Regions from separate parts of the Homo sapiens genome. Here regions 1, 3, 4, 5, 6 and 7 are each linked to region 2. The links are contacts of gene promoters, found by promoter capture Hi-C in blood cells and fetal thymus (Javierre and others, 2016). All regions are on one chromosome and are shown on one strand. Each heading gives the region's core, a stretch centred on a gene start or on the middle of the fragment in contact. The rest is flanking DNA. Distances are from core to core; before and after follow the strand shown.

Region 1 (3,767 bases), core at 313-2,812, 650 kb after region 2:
AATTAATAATGATGGCCAATATACTTTGTATGTTTATTTTAAACCAGGCACCCTGGTGGGTAGTTTTATTAGAGCAGGTACATTTCACAATAATCCAATGAAGTGTATGCTATTATTGTCCCCATATCACAGATGAAGAAACTGAGTAACTGAAAAATGAAGTAACTTGCCCAAGGTCATATAACTAGTAGGTGGTAGGGCCAGGATTTGTGTTCAGGTGGTAAGACCCTAGAGCTCATGATCTGAACCACTATGCTGAAGTAGTCCAGGCCTGGCTTAGACTATAATGTATATGCTAACATAAACATTAAGAGTGGAACAAATACCTGGGAAAAGTACACAGCCCCAAGATCTTCAAACCTATGAGAAAAACATAGCGAGAATAACACATCATTACCTTTTTCAAACTAAGAGAGAGATCTGGCCAGGGATAAGTAAGTTATTCCAAGTAGGTTTAGAAAAATAACCAGTGGTGTGTGGTTATTACCAATGGGGTGTGGTTATTACCAACGTCATGGAGGCATGGCTCTCTTGATTATAAATAGAATGCTTTGAATTTTCTGATTCTATTTCTTACAAAGCCAGCCAAAGCCACACATGAGAGATGTTGGATCTTCAGTAGGGAAGTTCTCCAGGTCTCTCTCTATTTAGCTATTATCAGAGCAGATATACACTTTAGTTCTATAAATTACAAGTTGACTTCTTCTACTTTGGCCAATTCTAAAGTATTCTGAGGGTAAGTCTCCCATGTTTCATAGAACAGATGAATTTGTCTTCCTCTGACTCTCTGGCATGTGAACACCCTGAAAAGGGGGTACACTTTAAGGCATTTTGCAGTATGTAAATTGCACTGTATTTGATGATAGGCAGATCAAAGTTTACATCTTCCCTCTATCACTGCCATGGAACCTGGGCAACTTACTTTACTTCTCTGAACTTCAATTTCCTCTTTTGTCAAAAGAAGCTGATGATACCTCCCTGAAGAATAAGTAAGGTAAAGCAAGTGTGCACATTTAGCTAACATTTGTAGGATACTTTATAGATTATGGCAATGAATACCCCAGCTCTCTTTCATTTGCCTTGTGATTTGTAAGTACTCTGACTACATGCACTGTGCTAGGTATCTTTTTTTTTTGAATTGTAGTAAAATATACATAACAAAATTTACCATGTTAACCATTTTTAAGTGTACTGTTCAGTGGCATTAAGTACATTCACGTTATTGTACAACCTTCACCAACATCCATCTATAGAAATGTTTTATTATTCCAACTGAAATTCTGTACCCATTAAAAAATAACTCCTCATTTTTCTCTTCCCCTAGCAACCACCATCTTCCTTTGTGTCTCTACGAATTTGACTACTCTATGTACCTCATATAAGTGGAATCTCACCATTTTGTCTTTTTGTGTCTGGCTTATTTCAGTTAGCATAAGGTCTTCAAGGTTGACCCACATTGTAACATATGTCAGAAACTCATTTGTTTTTAAGACTGAATGATTTTAAGGTTGTATGTATACAGCACATTTGGTTTACCCATTCATCCATTGGTGGACAATTGGGTTATTTCCACCTTTCGGGTATTGTGAATAATGCTGCTATGGGCACTGGTGTGCAAATATCTGTTTAATTCCCCTCTTTCAATTCTTTTGAGTGTATACCCAGAAATGGGATTGCTGGTCCTATGATAATTCTAGGTTTAATTTTTTGAGGCTGGATGTCCTTTGTGTATATTATTTGCAGTAGAAGGGGTGATGAGAGGTACCCTCAGAGATTCTCAGGTGTTTCTGCAGGACTGTCCCACCATCAGTGACCTAATGAGGTCAAGGACCTGCAAGGCAGCAGGTCTACAAGACTACACCGCTTAATCATTTAGGCTCTCTGATGCCTGCCTTTCCTCCCCAGTTATAGGTGACAGATTGCCAGAGCAGGGAAAAGTAATCCCAGAGACATCAGTATGCAAGCCAGAACAGGGAGCATTATGGTTTAAAACTGTTTCTCCACTGTTTTGCTATGGATATGTGTCTGAATGAGACACATCCCACCCCCAGCCCACCCCCTCCTCTCTCTGCTGGAAGAGCAAAGGCAGGCACATTGGGGTGTGTTAACCCTTCCAGAACCGGCACCAATGACTTCCTTAAAGTGTTCCATGTTTCAGCAGCCCTGCCTCAAGTTATCTGAGAAGATGCCGTTCATTGGATGACATGAATTGTTCCGTAACTGACAGACACTGAAAAGTCTCATTATCACCAATAACCGGAGCATCTCATTCATATCACACCTGTCAAGGCAGTCAGGTTGGGTCGTGTATGCATCCGGCAAAAGCCACTCAGATCACACACAAGAAGAATCATGCACTCTGGTGTGGTATCTCCCCCATCCAGCCCAGTCTCCATAGGGAAGTCACAGGAGAAGATCAGAAGTAACCACTATTGGATAAATAAACCCATTCTTTTGATATTGCTTTTAACCTGTTGGTGATCTTCACAGAGAGGTGAGCTTTTCAGAGAGAAAAGTGTTGGACTTTGTGGGTCATGAGCAAGTGGCAGGAGGTCCCGAGACAGCCCTCTGAGCTGTGGAATTGCAGTTGGCTTTTCAATGGTCACTTGGCAGAGTCATTTTCCTGAGTGTCCCAGACAGGGCTTTCTAGGAAAATCAATTCTGGCTGCATCATAAGGGGATGTACTCAAAGGGAGAAGTCACTGGATATGGTGTGAATATCATGGGCTTCAGTAGCAGATAGACTGGGGTTTGGATCAGCACTAATTAACTACGTCACATGGGGCAAGTTGCTTAACCACTCTGTGCCTGTTTCCCCATCAATGAAATAAAGAGGATTTTTAAAAATCTGTCTTCCTTTGGTCACTTATTAGCTATGTAGGCTGAGGTAGATCAACTTTTAGTGAGCTTTAGTTTCCTTATCTGCAAAATGGGCAGGAACAATTCCTCTCTCTAAAGGTTGTTGTGAAGATGAGATAAAATGTAAATAGTAGATGGTAGGTACTCAATAATTGTTAGATATTACTATTTTGAGGCTGGTGTGGTGGCTCATGCCTGTAATCCCAGCACTTTGGGAGGCCGAGGCTGGGGCAGATCACAAGGTCAGCAGTTTGAGAACAGCCTGGCCACTATAGTGAAACCCCGTCTATACTAAAAATACAAAAATTAGCTGGGCATAGTGGCATGTGCCTGTAGTCCCAGCTACTTGGGAGGGTGAGGCCGAAGAATTGCTTGAACCCAGGAGGCAGAGGTTGCAGTGACCTGAGATTGCGCCACTGCACTCCAGCCCGGGCGACAGAGCAAGACTCCATCTCAAAAAAAAAAAAAAAAAAAAGATATTACTATTTCAAGCTACCTTTTACCCTTTTGATGGTAGATGGGGTATAAATAATTAGAATGTATGTACAGAAAATAAAGTTTAGACTCAAATAGGAAACGTCTGTGTTGAGTGTATCTGTGGACCTTTTCACTGTCATTTCTGCCAGGTTGTTTGAGCCTGATACCACTTCTCACCTTGCCTTATAGAAGGCAGAAGTCTTTCATGATCTGATTTGTTCTCTCAGCACAATGTTGTCGTTAAGCAAGATGCCCCTGGAAACAATGACCAGGGATGAAAATCATGGCACCTCAACTTCCAAGTCTTATAATTTTGAACAATTTCTAATTTTCTTTGTACTTCAGTTTTCTTTTCTTTTCTTTTTTTTTTTTTTGAGACAGAGTCTCGCTTTGTCACCCAGGCTGGAGTGCAGTGGCGAGATCTCGGCTCA
Region 2 (3,752 bases), core at 1,175-3,674:
TTGGAAAGAAATTAGGTTTGGCCTAATGAAAACCAGGCAATGGGACCAAATCACAGAAATGAACTCCGACATTCTGTTTTGTTCCCACCCATGAAAATGTTTATGGTTTAGAAATTGCTGGACATTCTGCAGACCACAGACAAACCTTTACATGCAACATGGCATTGGCAATCTGGGCAGCCCTACCAAAATGGGATGACATGGTGCCATTCATATCATACCAGCCCGCGAGAGTAAGGAGAGCTGGGAATCCTCCCACTGAAGCAGCTCCTGTCGCTCAGCTCTGCTCTCTGAACTAGATGGGTGTGATGAACACCATTTTACAGAGGTGGAAACTGAGGCCCAGAGAAGTTCAAGAATTTGTACACGGAAAAGTTAATAATGTGTAGAATTAGGATTCCAACTCAGGTTGAATTCTAAAACCCCTATGCTTTGCTGCCACCATGCATTAGTTACTATTGCTGTATAACAAATTACTTCAAAGCTTCATAGCTTAAAACAACAAACATTGATAATCTTAATAGTGTTTGAAGGCCAGAAATCCAGGCGTGGCTTCGCTGGGTGGTGCTGGCTCAGAATCTCTCATGAGGTTGCAGTTAAGCTGTTGGCCAAGACTCCTGCCTTCTTAAGGCTCTACTGGGCCTAGACAATCTGCTTCTCAGGTCAGTAATGAAGTTGTTGGCCAGATGCTTCAGTTCCTTGTCACCTAGGCCTCTCTGTAGGACTGTTTACAACATGGCAGTTTGCTTTCCCCAGAGCAAAGGATTCAAGTGAAAGAGAGCAGGGCACATGAGAGAGCACCCAAGCCAGGAGACAGGAACTTCAGTCTTTTTGTTAGTTTTTTGGTGCAGTCTTGTATAACCTAATCTCAGAAGTGATATGCCATTCACACCCACCATTTGCTATTGGTCATGCATACCAATCCTGGTACATGGTGGGAGGTGTCTACACTAGGTTGTGAACACCAGGAGGCTGGGATCATTGAGGGCCATCTTGAAGGCTGGTGACCACACTCCTCATTACTCTAAAGTAAGACAAGAAGGCACAATCCTGCAAATACCAAGGCAATATCCTCAAATAAGTCACAAAATTTCATCTTAGTCTAATCACTTTTTTGGGTGGTTGTTTATTTAACAAATATTCAATTAACCCAAGACAATGGGCCCAGCCCTATAGATACAGGCAGGAGTTAAACCTAGAACCTACATTGAGTTATAACAGAAACCAGGAATCAGGCCATGAGGGTTCATGGAAAAGAGAGGCCAAGAAAGAGAGCTAGAATCAGGACCCTGTGACAAAATGGTTCTAAAATCTTCTAATCCAGGAATGGGTTCCTCCTTAGACAATTTGATTTTTGGTTTCCTGGGCCTTGACAACATCCCCACAGAAAATGGAGTCGGGGAAGGGGAAGGGGGAGGAGAGGAGACAAAGGAACAAATGTCCTTAGCAGCTTACCAATTTCTGGAATTTCACAAATGGGCATTCTTTCTTAAGCTCGAATATATCAGAACCCATTTTTTGAGCTGGAATTTGCTTAAAAAAAAGTGGAGGGTAGGAAAAGAAAAGAGCCACCCAAATACTAAAGGTAGATAAAGGAAATGTCTGTTTTGATGTACGGTCTCTGAGAACAGGGCAAATCAGAGTCCAGTACTGCCAGTGCAAAATCACTCTTTACAATTATATTCATTATAATTACCTTTTTGAATAAATGAACTAAATCATTTCCATTAACCTCCTCCCCCATCTCACCCCCGTATAACAAGAACCTAGCTAGGTAGTAGCTTTCATTCCATTCCTCTCTTGTCCCCTCTCCCAAACACTTCCTCACCTGCTCTTGTAATCAGATCTTCTCTATGACTATGGGAAAGTTACTAAAAACCCTAAATGATTATTTCCCAATCTGGATAATACTAATAATACCAGCTCCAACCTACTACATAGGCTGAAAAACTATATACGCAGAAGTAATTTTACATTCAAGACAGGATGTGTGCATGTGTGTGTGTCAATTCCAAGAAGCCCGATATGCACAGCCTCATTTTCATTCCAAACACTGGTACGCCGATCACTCCTGAACAACTACGTTTCCAAGGCGCCTGCCAAGCTTGCAGGTGCATTCCCCAAGTGCGCCAGCCCACCCACATGGGTCAAGGGAAAACCTGTTTCCCTGACTTGGTAAGTAGACAAGTCAAGCCAATTTCCTCCCCGAGTAAACCATCCTCCGCCCTGGTCCCCCTAGTCCTTTGGTTCTAGAGTCTCGGGGTTTAGTCATCCAGCCGCCGCGTCCGTCTTGATCCGCGCTCACTGCCGCAGCACCACAACCGAAACGCCTTCCCCCACTCTGAAGGACTACAGCCCCCGGCAGGCCCCGCGACAACAGCGACAGCCACGTGACCTCGCTTCCCTGGGTGCCACGGTCATGTGACTTCGGCAAGATGGCTGCCCTGACAGCGGAGCATTTTGCAGCACTCCAGAGCCTGCTCAAGGTAAGTCGAAGGGGTGGGGACAGCGTGAGGTGGCCCTTTGTCTCCGAGACTTTAGACGGAGCAGGAATTGGGAACAAATTGACCCTGGTTTGGAGCCACAACTCTGCTGCTTGTTCTCTGTGTGATCCCAGGCAAATCGTTGCGTCTTTCTGAGCTTTTAAAAAGTAAGAACAAAATATCGTTTTGACAGGAACGTAAGATAAAAAAAAATAAAATAATGGGCATGAAGGCGCAGTACAACCTCCTGCTATTAGTCTTTGGGATTGGTTTTCGGTATTGGTGCATTGAAGTGGTAATTGCTAGACCCACGTTGTCAGTTCCCCATTTCATCCCGTAGCCCCTCCTGCATTGCACAATTAAGAAATTATCTCCTACTGCGTCTGCCCAGCCCTCCGAATGACCTGTGCGTTCAATGTTCCCTTGAGGTCCAGATTTTCCCTACTCTCTTTGACCTGCGAAAGGGGCAGGACATACTCCTGATAATCATTTGAAAAGTTGTGAGGTTGAAAGGGACCTACTTCATAGGGCTTTGTAAAGCTCAAATGAAGTATTATTATTATTTGAGACGGAGTCTAGCTCTGTTGTCCAGGCTGGAGAGCAGTGGCGCAATCTCGGCTCACTGCAACCTCCGCCCCCCGAGTTCAAGCAATTCTATGCCTCAGCCTTCCGAGTAGCTGGGATTACAGGCGCCCGCCACCAAGCCTGGCAAATTTATGTATTTTTAGTAGAGACGGGGTTTCAACATCTTGGCCAGGCTGGTCTTGAACTCCTGACCGCGTGATCCACTCGCCTCCGCCTTCCAAAGTGTTGGGATTACAGGCGTGAGCCACCGCGCCTGGCCGGAATTATTTAACTTATGATTTGCCCTGTAGGAGAAAGGGCAGCTTTATTTTCCTTCGTAGAACTTGTCGCTAGCTATTTGCCCGTTGTCCGTCTGTCTCATAAGAATGTAAGATCCATCAGGGACCTTTCCTTTCTTCCTCTCTCTTTTTTTTTTTTTTTAAACACCAGGTGAAGAGGGTTGAGTTACTCTCCTCAATTTATGGCACATCATCATCATCGGTCCATGTAATAGTCTCTGTTTTGTTTTACTTATTTATTTTTTAATTGCCTTCTCAGTGTTCATTAGCATTCTCCACTCCTAAGGGGATCTACTCTTTTGTTCACAAGTGTTAATGCCCAATAAGTAGAACAATAATACCTGGCACACAGCACGTGCTCAGTAAATAGCTGTTAAATGAATTAATAAATGAAGTAACAGAGCTG
Region 3 (3,245 bases), core at 24-2,523, 710 kb after region 2:
GCTGGGTCAAATGGCATTTCTAGTTCTAGATCCCTGAGGAATCGCCACACTGACTTCCACAATGGTTGAACTAGTTTACAGTCCCACCAACAGTGTAAAAGTGTTCCTATTTCTCCACATCCTCTCCAGCACCTGTTGTTTCCTGACTTTTTAATGATTGCCATTCTAACTGGTGTGAGATGGTATCTCATTTTGGTTTTGATTTGCATTTCTCTGATGGCCAGTGATAATGAGCATTTTTTCATGTGTCTTTTGGCTGCATAAATGTCTTCTTTTGAGAAGTGTCTGTTCATATCCTTTGCCCACTTTTTGATGGGGTTGTTTGTTTTTTTCTTGTAAATTTGTTTGAGTTCATTGTAGATTCTGGATATTAGCCCTTTGTCAGATGAGTAGGTTGGGAAAATTTTCTCCCATTTTGTAGGTTGCCTGTTCACTCTGGTGGTAGTTACTTTTGTTGTGCAGAAGCTCTTTAGTTTAATTAGATCCCATTTGTCAATTTTGGCTTTTGTTGCCATTGCTTTTGGTGTTTTAGACATGAAGTCCTTGCCCATGCCTATGTCCTGAATGGTAATGCCTAGTTTCAACATCTCCTTTTCTAGATGTGAGCTCCTTAAGGAGAAAGACTGACTTTTCTTTTTTATACCACAGCTGTGGTTATAAAGTTCCCACTATTTGGCATATAGTAGATGTTCAAAATATGACTGTCGATTAAATCAGTGGTTCTCAAACTTTATGGTCTTAGAACCTCTTTTTTTGTTTGTTTGTTTTGTTTTGAGACAGGGTCTCACTGTGTCACTCAGGCTGGACTGCAGCGAGGTGATCTCGGCTCACTGCAACCTCTACACCCAGGCTCAAGCGATCCTCCCACCTCAGCCTCCCAAGTAGCTGGGACCACAGGTGCACACCACCATGCCCAGTTATTTTTTTTGTATTTTTATTTAATACAGGTCTCCTGTGTTGCCCAGGCTGATCTCAAACTCCTGACCTCAAGCAATCCACTCTCTTCAGCCTCCCAAAGTGCTAGGATTATAGGCATCAGACATTGCGCCTGGCCAGGACTTCCTTATACTCTTAAAATTTATGAAGACCTCCAAAAAGCTTTTGTTTATGTGGGTTATATCCACTGATATTTACCATATGATAAATTAAAACTGAATAAGAAAACATTTATTAAAATTTCAGTTGATTCATTTAAAAATAACAAATGCATTATGTTAACGAAATAACGTTTTTAATAAAAAACATTTTGAAAACAGAAAACCAGTTAGTCAGAAGAATCGCATTGCTTTATATTTTTGCAAATCTCTTAAATATCTGGCTTAAAAGGAGTCAGCTGGACTCTCATATCTGCTTCTGCAATTAATCTGTTGTGATATGTTGTTTTGGTTGAATTTTATGAAGAAGATATGGCCTTGCACAGACACACAGTTGGAGAAGGAAAAAGCTTTTTAATGGGCTTTTGAGATAATTGTGAATATTCTTATATTTTGTAATTCGAGGTAGGATCTTGCTCTGTTGCCCAGGCTGGAGTGCAGTGGTGTGATCATGGCTCAATACAGCCTTGACCTACCAGGCTCAAGCGATCCTCCCACCTCAGCTCCTCTAGTAGCTGGGACTAGAGGTGTATGCCACCATGCTAGCTAATTATTTTTTATTTGTAGAGATGGATGGAGTCTTACTATGTTTCCCAGGCTGGACTCAAACTCCTGGACTCAAGCAATCCTCCTGTCTCAGCCTTCCAAAGTGCTGAGATTACAGGCGTGAGCCACCATGCTTGCAGATATTATCCTTTGATACTACACAAAATTTGCTAAGTGGTAGTTTCTTAAAGGTTATTTTCAGTTCACTAATATGGTTCACTAAAACCATATTGGTGAACTCTTCATACCCTGTTATATAAAATCCATTGGTCTGTCTTGAAATTTGAAGGGATCTTTTACCCATGCATGATTTTGTAACATCGTGGAAAATATTGGCTCACTGAGGTTATGTATATATTCCAGATATTCAAACATTTCACTATAAAATATCACAAAATCATACTTGTCAATATTACCACTGATTTCATTAGAAAAGCTCTTAAATATTGAGAAACTATTAAGCTCATAGCAGTAAATAAAATTTTTCCAAATTCTAATTTTCAGTTGAAGGCTTAAATTTTATCATTGGCGACACATACTGTCAGTTGCTTTTCTTGAAATGATGAGTCTTATTTGTGTATTTATTTTGAGATGGTGTCTCGCTCTGTCACCCAGGCTGAAGTAGAATGGCATGATCTCGGCTCACTGTGACCTCCACCTTCCAGGTTCAAATGATTCTCCTGCCTCAGCCTCCCAAGTAGCTGGGATTACAGGTGCATGCCACCACACCCAGCTAATTTATTATATTTTTGGTAGAGATGGGGTTTTACCATGTTGAGCAGGCTGGTCTCGAACTCCTGACCTCAAGTGATCTGCCTGCCTTGGCCTCCCAAAATGCTGGGATTACAGGTGTGAGCCACCACACCCAGCCTCATTTTATTTATTTTTGATAAAAAGTCTGCCAAATTCTCAAATTTAAATAACTGAAATTTATTTGCTATCATTATGGGCTGAATTGTGTCCTCCCCTCAAATTCATATGTTGAAGCCCTAACCCCCAGCACATCAGAACGTGACTGTATTTGGAAACAGGGCCTTTAAAGAGGTGATTGAATTAAAATGAGGCTGTTAGGGTGGGCTCTAATCCAATCTGATTGGTAATTTTGTAAGAAAATGTGGACAAACAGAGAGACACCGGGGCACACATACAGAAAGGGGCTACCATGTGAAGACACAGCGAGAAGATGGCCATCTGCTTTCCAAGGAGAAACCAAATCTGCCAATGCCTTGATCTTGAACTTCAGGGAAATTGAGAGGCTGCTGGCTGCATTGGTGAGCGAGAGTGAGGAGGCAGGTAGTGCAGTGGTCTGAGGCTCCTGGTGGCAGCTGTCATTGTGAGAAGAGAAGGGAGCTGGATGGGTTTCTTCAGCAACCATGTCCAACACACCCAATAGGGCTGAGATTGAGAAATTTGACAGGTCAAAATTGAAGACAGAAAAGCAAGAGAAAAATCCACTACTGACAGCAGTGGCTACCAACCTGGACTGATTAAAAAGGATCAAAGGACTGATGTTTTTGTAGATATCACTGTGAACAGATGACATGGGGACCAGGTAAGCACTCATAAACTTGGCATGTTATAACCCCCTCAGAATGTGGTCACAAC
Region 4 (3,711 bases), core at 445-2,944, 800 kb after region 2:
TTCAGACAGGAAGTGAAGGTTGAGCTATGCCTTTGCTCTTCAGTTGGCAGAGCAGGAAGATATTTCAGGGAGAGGGATAGTATGGTCAGGGTGTGAAAATGCAAGGTGTGTTCAAGGAAGCATGTGACATGAGGTATGATTAGAGCAAGGTGATGGTCTTGGGGTGGCAAGCCCTGACTATGAAGGGCATAGTGTTCCAGGGCTCAGAGCTTAGACATGGTTCTGAGATGAAGGATGGTTTAATCTGGGGAGTACCATTTGACAGATAACTCTTGTAGCATAACTCCGCTGGAGTGGAGGAAGACCATATCCAAAGGTAGCCATTAGGAGTGCGATTGCAGCGCTTCAGGGGATGAAGAAGGGAGACTAGAGTGAGAAGAGCTTAAAGGAAGGAGTGACAGGACTCAAGACTCACTGAAGAATGGGGTAAGGAATCTCAAGAGTTTGCCTTTCAAATTCTTAGTTTGATTAACTGTCTAGAAGTTGATGCTGTTAAGTGAGTAATAAAAGGGAAGAGGTTTGGTGGGGGAAAGAAGGTGAGTTCCACATGAGATAAGCTGGAATTTGGACATCTATAAGAGACTCTGCAGACAGTAGGAAATAAGTGCCTGGAGCTCAAGAGAATTTTGGAGACTTGAGATATGCCTATGGCTGTTATAGATGGAAGCATGAGGTGAACAGAGCACCATGGGCAGAGGAAATAGCAACAGATGTAAAAGGAAAGGAAGAGAAAACCAGGAAGGAGATGGGAAAAGATAGAGAGATAGGAGGAGAACCAGGAAGGAGTAGGGTTCTGGAAGCTGGGGGCAGTGTTTCAAAGGCAGAAAGGTCACATAGGATGAAGGCAGTAAAGAGGTTTTTGTGTTTGATGGCTAGCATGCGATTGGTGACCTGAGCAATAGCAGTTTCATATAAAATTTGGCAGGGCGCAGTGGCTCATGCCTGAAAGCCCAGCACTTTGGGAGGCCAAGGCAGTGGATTACTTGAGCCCAGAAGTTCGAGACCAGCCTGAGCAACATGGTGAAACCCTGTCTCTACAAACAATACAAAATTAGCTATGCCACTGCCACTCTAGCCTGGGCAGAGTGAGACAGTTTCCAAAAAAAAAAAAAAAAAAAAAAAGGCAAGATTTGAAGTGTGAAAAATGGACAAAAAGAATACAGACAACTTTCTTTTAAATAAGCTTAATCAAGCAAGGAAGGGGAGAATTAAGGTGATAGTTTATATGAGTAAATAAACAGCTGTGGAAAAATACCAATTAAGATGGGAAAGGCCGGGTGCAGTGGCTCATACCTGTAACCCCAGCACTTTGGGAGGATGAGGCAGTCAGGTTACTTGAGGACAAGAGTTCAAGGCCAGACTGATCAACAAAACAAGATTCTGTTTCTACACAATATTAAAAAAATTCAGCCAGGCATGGTGGTGCATGCCTGTAGTTCTGGCTACTCAAGAGACTGAGGAGGGAGAATCGCTTCTGCAGCCAAGGATTTTGAAGCTGCAGTGAGCTATGATTACACCACTGCATTCCAGCCTAAACAACAGAGCAAGACCTCATCTCTGTCTCTCTCTCAAAAAAAAAAAAAAAAAAAAAAAAGATGGGAAAGGGTTAAACAGGTTTTAAGCTAATGTGAGTAAAGTGTCAGTAGGAGAGATTAAAAATATTACATATTAGAGTAAGACTAACTGAAGAAGTTAAGACCATGTTATCCTGAAGGAGAAGAACTTCCTATGAGATCAAGAACAAAAGTGAGAGTTAAAGGAGAGGGAGCTTCCTTTTCTGTCCTAGGCTGAGACAGGAGGAAAAGAATTATTTATAGGTAGCATATCTTGTTTGTTAGTAATTATATGGTAGGAACTGTGCTGAGCACTTTATGTGCCATGTCTTGTTTCATCTGTACAATCACCCTATGAAAATACATACTCCCATTTTATAGATAATGAAACTGAGGCTCAGAGCTGTGAAGTAACTTGCCTGAGGCCGTACACTTTGGGGTAAAGCCCAGGACGATTCCAGACCCCTTACTCTTGTTCTTAACCACAGTCCTAGTCTGCCTCCTGCTGGTGAGTTCTCCCGTTTTCTCTGGGAAGTAGGGAGTGAAATATCTGCTGAGAATGAGTAGAAGTGAGGTTGGGGCTTGAAAGTACCAAAGGTTTGGGGCAGCCACTTGAGGAACAAGAAAAGGCACCAGCTGGTGTTAAGCTTAAAGCATATCCAAGCGAGACGGAGGACCCAGTCGAAGCCAGAGTTCCTAGGGAGGTGATGCAGTCAGTTAGGACGTTGGCTGATGCTCTCTGGAAGTGCAGCAGCAGAAGGGAGTAAAACCAGTTGTTTTGTTGATCCAAGAATAAGCTGAGACATGACTGACCAAGGATCCCAGCTGGGAAGGACATGAAATCAGAAAGAGCCTGGTAGAGGGGCAATAGGGACAGGAGGTCTTAAGTGGAAAAGCAGGCTTGGTGGTAATGAAGTAATGGAACACATAGGTGGAATGGGTATTATGGTCAGAGAGTAGAGTTTCTAAGTTGAAGCTTTCAGGGATGGTGGTGATAAAGTGTTCAGTTTTTTTTTTTTTTTTCTGGGTAACTAACAATCTCAAAGGACAAATGTTTGTTCTTTCTCATGGGTCTGTGAGTTGGCAGGCATTCCACTGATTTCAACTGGGCTGACCTGGGCTGGTTGTGCTCCAGGCTGCAGGGCTTAGGCAGAAGGGACAGCAACCATCAGGGGATGCTCTTCTCAGGGTGGGTCGCAGAAGCACAAGAGGTCAAGCCAAACACACAGGTGCACATAAGGCCTCTGCGCACATCACACTCACCCATATTCCACTGGCCAAAAGAAGTCACATGGCTAAGTTCCCAATGAGTGAAGTAGGGAAGTATATGCCATCCCAAAGGAAGAGGGGTGGATAAATATTTCTAAACAATACTTCAGTCGCTCCATGTGAGTAAGGGGGTTTGTTCAGGGTGCAGGGGACAGGAAGGAAAGAATATTTGCATGCAAGAAGTCAATACAGCAAATGGTAACAAAACAAGGATAGCAGTCACCCAAATGTTATGAAACAGAAAATATTAATATTCAGAAATCCTGAGCATGTGTCTTTTTAAATAGCACCTACTGGTCAAATCTTGGGTTGCACCTTGGTGTAAGACGCTGTTTATGGAGCCTCATTGATTGGGCTGGTGATTGTGTCCATTTGAGGGTCCAGGCTTTCTCAAGGACAGCAGAACTGGCTCAGAGCAACCAGTCTATCACCTAGGCAGGCAGAACAGAGAGCTCACACCTTCGTGCATTAATCTACCCATCCAGTCAAAAGATATTTCTTGAATGGATGCTTCTAGGTGCTGGATGTACAATGATAAGCCAGACGGGCATGGTCTCTGACATCTTAGAGCTTGCGCTTTAGAGAGGAGATTTTTTTTAAAGTTAAAAAAATAGAATGTGGTCAATGCTATGAAATTGAAAAAACAAACTAATGGTCAGATTCTATCCGATCTGTGTTGGTTCAGTTTTGCTTGTTCAATTACGTTATGCTTGTTCTGAGAGCCTCATTCCACACAGTGTATGTTACCACTGCCATGAGCACTGATGGAGCATTTCTTATGGAGCACTGGGCTGGTCACCAGGGAACACAATGATTCCGCAATGAGTTTACAATCCATCTGTGAAAACAGTGCTTGACCATAAGAAGACATCAATATGATGTTATTAGG
Region 5 (3,507 bases), core at 1-2,500, 670 kb after region 2:
TCGTTATACTTGTCCCACATGCCTGCTACCCGGTAGCCGTGCACCAAGCCCGCCTCATTGTCCAGAAAGACCAGCGCCCCGCCCGGACCGCGGTGCAGGTTGCTGGTGGCACGCTGCATGACGCGCGGGTCCCACTGCAGGCTGAAGAGGTTGCTTACGAGCCGGTCGAAGTTGGCCGTCAGGTAGTCGAAAAGGATTAAGTCGGTCCATTGTACTAGGTCCACCAGCTCCGCCTGGCTGAGGTTGGCCAGCTCACCCCCGGCATCCCGGAGGGGGCGCAGACGGCCGTCCTCCGAGCGCCAGGGCGCGGGCACCACCACGTCCGTGAGGTTGGGCAGCCAGCGTGTCAGGCTCACCACGCTGCCCTCGGTCCAGTGCGCAGCGCGCAGCTCCTCCTGCACCTGCGCCCACTGCGCGCCCCGAGCCTCCACCCGAGCCAGTGCCAGCGGCGGCACGTGGCGCTGGAGGCCCAGCAGGCGCGCCAGATAGTAAGACAGGGCCTCGCCCTGAATCTGCTCCGGGTTGATGCCGTAGCGCACGCAGGCGCGGGTGCCGTCGGCAAAACGGGCCAGTCGGTTGGAGCTGCGCCCGCAACCCCCGCGCTCCAGGGCCACCATCCGGGCGCCGCGAGCCGCCTCCAGCCACGCCGCCGCCTGGGCCTCCGAAAAGCCCGGGGGCACCTGCTCCTCCAGGCCGCGGCTCCAGAAGACGCCCCCGTGCACCGCGGCGCTCTCCTCCGGCCGGGGCTGCCTGGCTGACACGTGCCACCTGGGCTCGCTCCGGGACTGCCGGGGCGGGCCGTCCGCGCCGGCCGCCAGGGTGAGCAGCGCCCGGAAAGTTTTCAGGGAGCCGCCGCGGGCGTCCCACGCCAGGGGCGGGGGCAGAGGGAAGCGAGGCGCGGGCGCGGGGCCGCCGCTCCGGGCCGGGCGCCGTGGGAGTCGGTCTTCGGGCGGCCGGGAGGCGGGCAGCTCGGTCCGCGGCGGCAGGAGCCCTCCCCACAGCGCCAGCAGCGAGCCCAGCGCCAGCAGCCAGAGCCCCGCGGTGGCGGCGGCGCCCCGCATCCTCCTGCCCATGCTCCCGCGGCTGTGCCGGTGCGCCGCCGCCGCTTCAAGCCGAGCCCAGGCACCCGGGTCCCGGCGGCGAGGCGGGCCCGGCAGTTTGTGGGCTCCGGGGCTTCGGGCGCTTCGGCCCCATCGCGGCCGCGGGGCGCTGCGGGGCTCTGTCCGGCGCTCCGCCCGGCGCTGGGAACTCGAGTCCCCGCCGCTTCCCAGCTGCTTTTGTATTTCGCTGTGAGACCCTCCGGTGGGCGCGATTCACAGGCGCCCGGACCACGTGGGAGCCAGGGGGATCCCCCTCCCCCTCCTCCGCCTCCGCTCCCCGCCCCCCGCTCCCCCGCCCCCTTCCTCTCCTCTTCCACTTAAAGCGGCGATGGCTCCTTCCGAGAGGGAGAGGCGGCCCCACACTCGGTCCGGGACTTGGGGGCCTGGAGGAAGCCGGACTGGCTGCGCCCGCGCCGGGGCGTAGGAGGGGGTGGCGCAGAGCCGGAGTCTGGGGCCTGGCGGGAGGGACGCGCCCTGGGCCCTCGCGGGGGTGTCTTGGTCGCCGGGTCCCTTTGCCTAGGCAGCGCGGGTCTCCTGCAAACTTCAGACAGATTTCCACCTCTTTCCGAGCTCCGCCAGGCTAGGATCAGGCAGGGTCCCTTTGCTTTCTCAGTTTCTGTCTGGGTGATTCACGCTGCTTTATGTAAATCTCTGGGAATGTCTCCGAGCCACAGAGGATGTGATTCCAGCGGAAAGAGGAACCCGCTGTAGCCAACAACTTTGAACCGACACTCCCTTTTCCGAGCTCGCACATCAGCACCAATCAGTATTGGCCGCTCTGCCTTTCCCAACGGACTCCCAGGGAATGAAGCCTCGCTGTGCACGTGCCCCTTGAACACCTAGGCCATCTCCCATTCATTCATGCATCCATTCAACACAGCGACTGCCCCTCAGTTCTGGTTCTGCTTACCAGAAGCAAAATCCACAGATCCGGGTCCCAGTGCTGCTGAAATTTACATTCCAGTGGGACTCTCAGGTTGCTAAGAGAGATTATAGCCATCCAACCTCGTGTTGGGGAGAGGGGAGTCAGGGACGACTTTTCGAAAGAAATGATACCGTTTTGTCCATGAGGAAACTGAGGCACAGAGAAGGGATGGGTGTTGCTCAGGATTGCACAATTAGCAAGGGGCGAAGCTAAAAGTCAAACTCAGGTCTCCTGGCCGCATGCACTTGATTTTCCCTCCATTAAGAAAGATCAGTATTTTTTTTTTAATCAAGTCAGCATTCTCAAGTTTGAAATTCACTGTCATTTGACCACTTTGTTCCCCAAATGTGATTTTTCAATTAAAAGGATTTTTCAAATGGAAAGGAAAAAAACCTCAATCCCATACTGCATTTGATTTACTGCTTTTACGATTTAAGGGAAAAAGAAATGGTGGTGGTGGTGGGGGAGGGAGGTGGTGAAGGAGCAAAGAAAACAAAATGAACAACCTCTTCACCCCAACACATCTTCCAGCCACCTCTGGGTTACATTTACCAGGAAAACTTGGATGCCAGTCGGCCCTCCCTTACCTCTCTGTATCAGAATGAGTCCCAGATCCACACTGAGATTCCCAGGGTAGACACAAGATCAGGGGCATGGTGGAATCCACCTCTCAAAGGCCAGAGTTTGAAATCTGTTTCCTTACATGGTGTGTATCTTTTCTCTCCTTTCATCTTCCCATCAGGTGCACATGGGGGTTTTCAACTGGACTACCTCATCAGTTGGCACTGATTATGTTTTATTCTCCAAAGAAAAAACGTTCTAGGGTGATAGAGCGTTCCAGGGTGATAAAGCAGACACTCTTATGTTTATGGCTGAGCAGAGGCATCAAAAAACCACATTTGGAGTATTGCAGCACTGACCCAGGATACAGTCAAGTGTTTTCACTGGTGTGGTTAAGTACATACTGGATGAACTGTTGAATCTGTTCCCAACCACATGGTGGCTATACCATGCCATTTTATAACTCTTATCTGATAATGAGATTACTATGGCTCCCATATGGTTGCATCGAAATATATTAATCCATTCAAAGGTCTTATTTTTTTGGCCTATGTAAGCCCCTCCTCATCTTTCCCTAGCAGGCAGGGACTATGTCTTATTTTTTTATTTCTTATACCACCTAACATAGTATATTACACTAAATAAGCACTCAATAAATTTAATTTTTTTGTCTTTTGGTTTAACTTCTACTGGGATATATATGTATTTATTTGAAAGGCAGCCTCTTTCAGCGTGGGCAAACTATAAGCAAGATCGCCACCTAGTGGGCATAAGTAGAGTATCATCTAATTGGAGAAAAGTAGACATTTTTAACTGGATGATTAATTGTTGAAGTTAAATTCGGAAGACTATTAAATGTCTACTGTGTACCAAGCTATGTCCTAGGGGATATGGAGAAATCCAAAGTAGTTGGGGTCTCTG
Region 6 (3,778 bases), core at 221-2,720, 690 kb after region 2:
TTTCTGAGACAGGGTCTTGCTCTGTCATCCAGGCTGGAGTGCAGTGGCACCATCATGGCTCACTGCAGCCTCAACCTCCTGGGATAGAGCAATTATCCTGCCTCAGCCTCCCAGGTAGCTGGGACTGCAGGTGCATGCCATTACGCCTGGCTAATTTTTAATTTTTTTTGCAGAGACGGTGTTTTGCCATGTTGCCCAGGCTGGTCTCAAACCCTTGGGCTCAAGTGATCTACCTGCTTCGGCCTCCCAAAGTCCTGGGACTACAGGTGCGAGCCACTGCACCCGACCCCATCTTCAGGCATTAAGAACATTCAGAAAACCCAAACAAAAAACACATGTTATGGCTTTGGTACAGCGTTGGTGGAAAATCCAGGTGGTTCCTTTGGCACTTACCCCAGACGATCCTAGTAATATCCTCCCACCTGAGCAGAGTCTGAGTTTTGAATATCCTCCTGCATGCACCTTCAGTTTCCTACTGCCTGCTCCTAAGATCCACACGCCCCAACCATGTGGTCTGCCTCCCACACAAATCCTCAGGGAGGAGAGCTTTTAAATTTGGCAAAGCAACTATTGACTCAGGTTTTGTTTGTTTGCCATTAAGTTAGCATTTAATAAATGCAAGATTCTTGGCTTAATAGGCTGGTTATTATGTGTTATCGAAATGGCAAATTAATTATTCAAAAGCTGTGTTTAAGATATACCAGAGATGTAACTGAGGAGGCCTCTTTGTTCCTAATTTGCAGTAAGCATTGCATTTCTGGCCAGTCAGTATTTATTTCAAGTATAATAATTATCTTGTTAAACCCAAATCTATTAAATTGAAATGAAAGTCAGGAATTAGTGCTGGAGGGTGGGGAAGGGTTTACTCAGGCGATGTTGCGAGCATCCTAAACCACCAGCCTCATGACTCTCACCTCACCGTGAGGATGCCAAAGCCAGCCCCTAAAGCATAACTGCATTGATAATTGTTCATTATCCAGGGACAGAGCCACCTACTATCCTTGGCTCAAGTAACTCTCCCTTGGTTATAAACTTTTAACGTAATGATGAGAAAGACAGCCACTGTTTATCAGTGCCTCTTACGTGACAATTGCTTTACATCCATTATCTCCAGTTCTCACAACAATCTCAATTTACAGATGAAGAAACTGAGACTTGGAGGGGTTAAATAATCTGCTGAAGGTCACATATGTATAGTCAGTCCCTTGGTGTTCACAGGGGATTGATTCCAGGAATCCCTGTGGATACCAAAATCCACAGATGCTCAACTCTCTTACATAAAATGGTGTAGTATTTGTGTCTAACCTACACACATCCTCCTGTATTCTTTAAATAATCTCTAGGTTGCTTATGTCTAGTGCAATGCAAATGCTATGAAAATAGTTGTTATACTGTATTTTAAAATTTATATTTTTAATTGCTGTCTTATTATTTTTTATCTTTCCTCCAATATTTCAGATCTGCATTTAGTTTTGAATCCATGGATACAGAACCCACAGATAGAGAGGGGTGACTGATATGTTAATTGCAGAGCTGAGAGTTTGACTCAGGTCATTTGGGTTCCAAAGCCATCCTCTCTGCAGCTGCAGAAACTCTGAGGCCTTGAACATGTATTTTTGTGTACTGCAGAGGGGAGACTGTTCCTTGCCTTTCGGCTCAGAACCTGATTACCAGAGCAGTCTGTTTTGTTCTCTGCCCCTCCCCAGTTAAGTTCCAGACTTGTTCCACTGTAGCATGGGCATGTTCACTTGCCTTCTTCCACTCTCGTGGCTCCATGCTGCAGCTAAGAAGGGGCCATCAGGCCATCATAACTTACCTTTGTGCATCCACTCCGTTTTCCATCCCCATGTGCAGGACTGCAGGGTTTATCAACAAATTCTAACGAGAAGCAAAAAAATTTCCAAGGAGAAAAAAATATTCCAATGTATCTGAATCAGTTTTCTGGATTCTTTGTTTGTGTCCAAGCCCCTTCAATGCAGCTATAGCTGAGAACCAGCAGCCAGAGGGTGGAGTAAACAAAAGACATGAACTGGGGACTGCCTGAAGACTTTATTATAGCTCACAACTTAGGATATTGAGATGACTAGTTATACCCACAGAATGATGCTGCAGAGTACCCAGGCCACATGGTTCAAACAAGCTGACACAGGGAGATTCTGTTTGGCTTCTACTTACGGGAGCCAGGTCATTCACTCATTCGTTTCATCCATTCATTTATCCAACACATATTTGTCATTTGCCTGCTTTGTGTCAGGCACTGTTGTAAAGCATGAGGTCTCTGACTTTACATGAGATGTCCTAGAATCCCAGGGGTGGGGCAGAGGAAGAAACACTGGCCAGAGTTAGAAGAACTGGGTTTGAGTTAGCATGACCAACTTTTCTGGTTTGCCAGGGACTTTCCCAGTGTTAGCACTGAATGTCACATATCCTGGAAAACCCCTCAGCAACTGGGGAACAGTTGGTTGCCCAGGTTTGAGTGCCAGCTCTGCTATCTACTTGTCTGTTAGTCAATCTATATTTTGTGAGTACCTATTAAGAGCCAGGCAGTGTGCCAGGCTGGGAAACAGCAGTAAGCAAAGAAGAGTCCCTGTGCCCAAGGGGTCCCCTTTCAGTAGGAGTAGACATCCCAAGCAGACACAAATAACTTAAGGTGTGTCTAAGAGCCATCAAGAAGATAAAATAGGTACTGTGATGTAGAGTGACTGCATATGGGAGGGGCTGTTTTAGCTAGGCAGGTCAGAGAAGGCGGTAGCAGGGGGTGACAATAAACAGAGCCCTCAATGAGAGAAAAAGGACAGCTATGTATGAATTTTTGGGGGAAGTTTTCCAAGCAGAAAGATCATCAAGGGCAAAAGCCCTGAGATGGGAACAAATCTGCCAGGTTTGAGGGTCAGAAGGAAGGTTAGTGTGAATAGAAAGAGAGGAGGAAAGAGATGGGGAGGGGAGGAGGAAGGGGTTGGAGAAGCAGGCGGGGCAAGATGATGGAGGGCCTTGGGCTCTGCAGTAAGTGAGTAGGTGGGGCTGCTAGCTGGAGTATCTAGGTGGTAGCTTCTACACCAAGATATCTTAGGTTTCTTTCATGGTAGTGGCAGTATATTAAGAGGGCAAGCCCCAATATACAGGCACTTATCCACCTCTGTTGATGTCTCATTTGGTGATGTTCCACTGGCAAAGCAGAGCTCATGGCCAAGCCCAGCATCAGTGGAAGGGAGCTAGCAAGGGTATGGATACAGGAAGATGGGATTCACTGTGGACAATCAATGTAACAATCTGCTACAGGAGGCTATGAATAGGTATTTATTATTATCCTCAATTATAGGTTTTGAGGCTGAGTAGTATTCCTACACACACACACACACGCGCACACACAAACACACACACACATATATCTCACATTTTCTTTATCCAGTTGTTGATGGGCATTTGGGCTGGTTCCACATTTTTGCAATTGTGAATTGTGCTGCTATAAACATGCATGTGCAAGTATCTTTTTTGTATAATGACTTCTTTTCCTTTGGGTAGATACCCAGTCATGGGATTGCTGGATCAAAGAGTAGTTCTATTTTTAGTTCTTTAAGGAATCTCCACATTGTTTTCCACAGTGGTTGTACTAGTTTACATTCCCATCAGCAGTGTTGCTGAAACCCCATCTCTACTAAAAATACAAAAATTAACCCCGTGTGGTGGTGGGTGCCTGTAGTCCCAGCTACTTGGGAGGCTGAGACAGGAGAATTGCTTAAACCCAGGAGGCGGAGGTTGCAGTGAGCCAACACTGCAC
Region 7 (3,445 bases), core at 183-2,682, 740 kb after region 2:
GGAGGTTACAATTCGACATGAGATTTGTGCAGGGACACAGGTCCAAGCCATATCTCCTTCTGTCTCTGACTTTCTAGGAATCTAAATACAATACGTGAAAACCTGAGTTTGTAGAAGCACATGAGTTCTGCCGCAAGGCAATCAGGGTGATCCTCCCATTACTGAGTGTGTGTAAATACTCAGTGGTCTTTATGCTGCCCACAGCTACTCAAAGACCTTCATGGCTTCCTCATCACTTACACAGAAGCCAAGAATGTCCAAGCAGAGTGCTTCCTGCTCTGTTCGGGTGGCTTCAATGCCTAGCACCCCTCCACACCCCAATTCTTGCCATATCTCCGCATTCTTCCTTGATGCCACTCCCTGTTTGCTTCTTTCTTTTGAACAAATCCATGTTGATGGTCCCCTGGCTTTAAATTTTGGCTCTTAAATTTCACACCACCAAAGCTCATGGTTAACTCCTAACCAGTCCTTCTCGGAGTCCCAAGTGTCCCTGTGGAGATGGATATTGGAGAGTAATTGTGCACCAAAGCATTTGTCCTTGTTTGTCTGTGTGACCAAATTTTGGAGGGTAGCAGATGATGGTCAAGTGATCTTTCACTCTGAGGCCCAAGAATTAATTCTGTGAGAAGGTAATGTAAACAGTGGCCTTTTAATTGGCTGGGGATTTGGTAGAGGCAGAACTCCCAGAATATAACAGTTTCTGGGGCTATCTTGGAGCATAAGTTTGCACAAGTATTGCTAAATGTGAGGAGTCTGACAATCAAATATACACTAGTAGCAGCCAACAGGGTCTTGGAGTTATATAGGGGCTGGAGGAGGTCCTGGTCCTAGAATATTTACAGGTCCAAGATATGCCTATCATCATCAAAAATCAGGCTGAACTGTTTGAGGCCTTATATAGGGCTGGGGGTGGTTATGATGCTTGAACAGAATGCCAAACCTATTTTTCCTTACCCCAGGAAGCTTCATCTATAATAATTCAACAAGCAGGACTGGAGAGTGGTCATTGATAGGAATGTTACATTGGTTAATTAGCTTCTTCAGAATGACCAGCACTGTTCCCAGCTGATATCACTCCCGACTTTGACCAGAGCTTTATTTCTACCACTTTATAAAAACACATCTGTCAGAGAAAAATGAATTTGCTGACCCAGAAGGACAACTGTGGGAGAGAAGCTCACGTGTAGCAGAGATAATTTTCTATCAGAGCTTACTTATTCAGGAATTCCACTCTAGGTCGTGGCAAATTGAGGAAGGGTCCATGTTTTGCTCACCTTTGTTTTTGGTGCCACTTTACGTGGCAGCATCAGGAATGAATGGGTGACTCTGGGGCTGTCCCTGTATATCCATAATGGAGGCTCCCAGGGCTGAGGAGCCCTCCTAGGTGAGGGAAGCCCTGTAGGATCACCCCACAATCTGGCGCATACTATCCTATCTTGTTACGCTCTAAATCTCAACTGCTTTCTTAACTAGTTTGTAAGTTCCCTGCAAGCAGATAATAATAGTACCTGCTTCCTAGGGCGGTTGTGGGTATAAATGAGACCACGTGTACAAAGTGCTTAGCACATTATCTGGTAAATAGAAAATTCTCAATAGATGGCATAAGCCCTCCAGAGCCTAGAACACATTAGAACTTTAATAAATACCAATTACAATAATGAATGTTTGATTACCTCTGTTGAGCTTAGGTCTATTTCCCTGTAAAGCTAGATCCCAGAGCACTTGAAACAGGAGGTATTCAGGAGATAGTAGTTATGATAGTCACCATTAATCCTCCCAAATTATTCCCCTTGTACAGATGATGAAATGGAAACTCAGAGAAGTTACCCATCTTGCTTCTGATCATTCAGCACAGTTGTGGCAGAACTGGGGCTCAAACCCTGGGCTAACTCCAAAGCTTCTGCTTTTAATTACTTTGCTGTGTTGCTTCCCCAGGGAAGTAGGTTGAGATTATGATGATTTCAGCCATAATGGTTTCTATTTTCTGTCTGTATGGATAATAAAGAATTTAATATTCAATTAACCTTTACTGAGCCCTAACATGTACCAGGACCTGCTAGGATTCTTTGTAGGGTACATTTGTGCAATCTACTGAAAGATACCCCCTTTGGGTGAATGTAGCCATGGGCACATGGCGTGGTCAGTAGAAGCTGGGCTGGATTCCAGCCTCCACTTGTCCCCTAGCCTGGGCGCCTGTATGCAGCATGCAAACTTGCCAGGTGTATTTGGTGCCCTGGGAACTGGCCATGTCATCGAATCTACTCTCTTCAACAGTCCCCTTGCCTCCTCACAGAACTAATTCTTGGGTTTCAGGGCCAAAGGTCACTTGACCATCATCTGCCACCCTCCAAAGTTTGGCTGCACAGAAAAAAAATGACAGATCCTTTGGTGCACAATTACTCTCCAATATCCATCTCCATGGAAACACCTGGACTCTGATAAGGGCTGGTTAGGAGTTAACCATGAGCTTTGGCTGGTGTGCAATTTAAGAGAGAATGGGTGACTCAGTGATATGGAGAGGAACCAAAATTTAAAGCCAGGGACCATCAACATGGATTTGTTCAAAAGGAAGAAGCAAACAGGGAGTGGCATCAAGTTAGATCTCAGAGATGTGGCAAGGATTGGGGTGTCCAAGTACAATGCCACTCCACAGATGAAGAGGCTGAGATTCAGAGTTGTGGCATTTCCAAGGCTACACAGGTGTCAGTGTGCATATGCAGTGTTCAAGTCAGAGTCCTTTAGCTTCAAATTCAGAGGCTGGTTAAAGATTGCTGCAAAAGTAATTGCGGTTTTTGCAATTATCTTTTTTTTTTTTTTTAAATAAAGGCAAAAACCACAGTTACTTTCACACCAACCTAATATAAAGCAGAGTGGTTTAGTGTGGTCATAGTAAAGACTGACTTGGAATTCAGGAATGGTTGGATAGAATCTGCCACATTTGACAACTACTGCTCTTAAGATACTCTTGCTTGGTTGTAGCCACATCCCTGGTGAGTGGTAACTGTGGTCTCTTGGCACTACAGAAGAGACAAAGTTACAGGCAGGCTGAAGCCCTCTGGTGAGAAAGCACCGGTGAGCTGGGGCTGTGGAATGTGAGCACTTGAAAGATATGATGAGGCTCTTGGAATAGTCAGGGTTTCAGGTTTCAGTGCATATGCCGTGATTTTCTCACTGGGGACTGGAAAGTATACCAGCACTTACAGAGTAGCACATGCTCAGCTGAGAGCCTGGAGATCCTGCCAGTGGCTGAGTGGGGCGGGACAGACAGTTGGGTGCTGTGGTTAAGATGCTGGGCTCTGGAGAAAGCATGGCACTTACAAGCAGACCTCTGAGATTAATATCACAGCAATATTTCCTACATGAGGAAATTTACATCTCAAGGGAAGCTGACTCTGTTTCCCCATCTCCTCTCTTATTCTTTCATGGCTTTTCTAGCCCTTTGGAG

Evidence for each region. The method cuts DNA at HindIII sites, captures the fragments that hold promoters and counts their contacts. A CHiCAGO score of 5 or more calls a contact.
Region 1: a fragment that was not itself captured here is called in contact with the fragment with the promoter of COMMD9 in region 2 in 10 of 17 cell types (activated CD4 T cells, naive CD4 T cells, non-activated CD4 T cells and 7 more); the score reaches 9.8 in activated CD4 T cells.
Region 3: a contact is called between a fragment that was not itself captured here and the fragment with the promoter of COMMD9 in region 2, in 1 of 17 cell types (monocytes). The highest score is 5.3, in monocytes.
Region 4: a contact is called between a fragment that was not itself captured here and the fragment with the promoter of COMMD9 in region 2, in 2 of 17 cell types (endothelial precursors and M1 macrophages). The highest score is 5.6, in endothelial precursors.
Region 5: a contact is called between the fragment with the promoter of FJX1 here and the fragment with the promoter of COMMD9 in region 2, in 16 of 17 cell types (M1 macrophages, naive CD8 T cells, erythroblasts and 13 more). The highest score is 16.7, in M1 macrophages.
Region 6: a fragment that was not itself captured here is called in contact with the fragment with the promoter of COMMD9 in region 2 in 4 of 17 cell types (total CD4 T cells, naive B cells, naive CD4 T cells and 1 more); the score reaches 7.0 in total CD4 T cells.
Region 7: a fragment that was not itself captured here is called in contact with the fragment with the promoter of COMMD9 in region 2 in 1 of 17 cell types (endothelial precursors); the score reaches 5.2 in endothelial precursors.

Annotation. Positions count from the first base shown.
Region 1 is chr11:35,634,631-35,638,397 of GRCh38, reverse strand. No RefSeq gene overlaps it. Among named protein-coding and RNA genes, the nearest start is that of FJX1, 18 kb to the right of the region's middle. The HindIII fragment of the contact is 5,185 bases long and covers 1-3,767 here.
Region 2 is chr11:36,288,096-36,291,847 of GRCh38, reverse strand. It overlaps COMMD9 (COMM domain containing 9), which reads left to right and starts at 2,424. Exons shown (of 6, transcript NM_014186.4): 1 at 2,424-2,486. The coding sequence starts at 2,436. RefSeq lists enhancers at 2,274-2,523, 2,360-3,062. The HindIII fragment of the contact is 8,947 bases long and covers 2,107-3,752 here.
Region 3 is chr11:35,575,631-35,578,875 of GRCh38, reverse strand. No RefSeq gene overlaps it. Among named protein-coding and RNA genes, the nearest start is that of FJX1, 41 kb to the left of the region's middle. The HindIII fragment of the contact is 346 bases long and covers 1,101-1,446 here.
Region 4 is chr11:35,486,081-35,489,791 of GRCh38, reverse strand. The region is part of intron 3 of PAMR1 (peptidase domain containing associated with muscle regeneration 1); the gene reads left to right. Among named protein-coding and RNA genes, the nearest start is that of PAMR1, 38 kb to the left of the region's middle. The HindIII fragment of the contact is 1,017 bases long and covers 1,186-2,202 here.
Region 5 is chr11:35,616,203-35,619,709 of GRCh38, reverse strand. FJX1 (four-jointed box kinase 1) reads right to left here and starts at 1,250. Exons shown (of 1, transcript NM_014344.4): 1 at 1-1,250. The coding sequence starts at 1,073. RefSeq lists enhancers at 1-295, 296-930 and silencers at 503-772, 783-1,042, 1,063-1,132, 1,230-1,391, 1,213-1,542 and 1 more. The HindIII fragment of the contact is 8,334 bases long and covers 1-3,507 here.
Region 6 is chr11:35,597,381-35,601,158 of GRCh38, reverse strand. No RefSeq gene overlaps it. Among named protein-coding and RNA genes, the nearest start is that of FJX1, 19 kb to the left of the region's middle. RefSeq lists an enhancer at 2,274-2,503. The HindIII fragment of the contact is 7,647 bases long and covers 1-3,778 here.
Region 7 is chr11:35,549,663-35,553,107 of GRCh38, reverse strand. No RefSeq gene overlaps it. Among named protein-coding and RNA genes, the nearest start is that of PAMR1, 26 kb to the right of the region's middle. The HindIII fragment of the contact is 934 bases long and covers 966-1,899 here.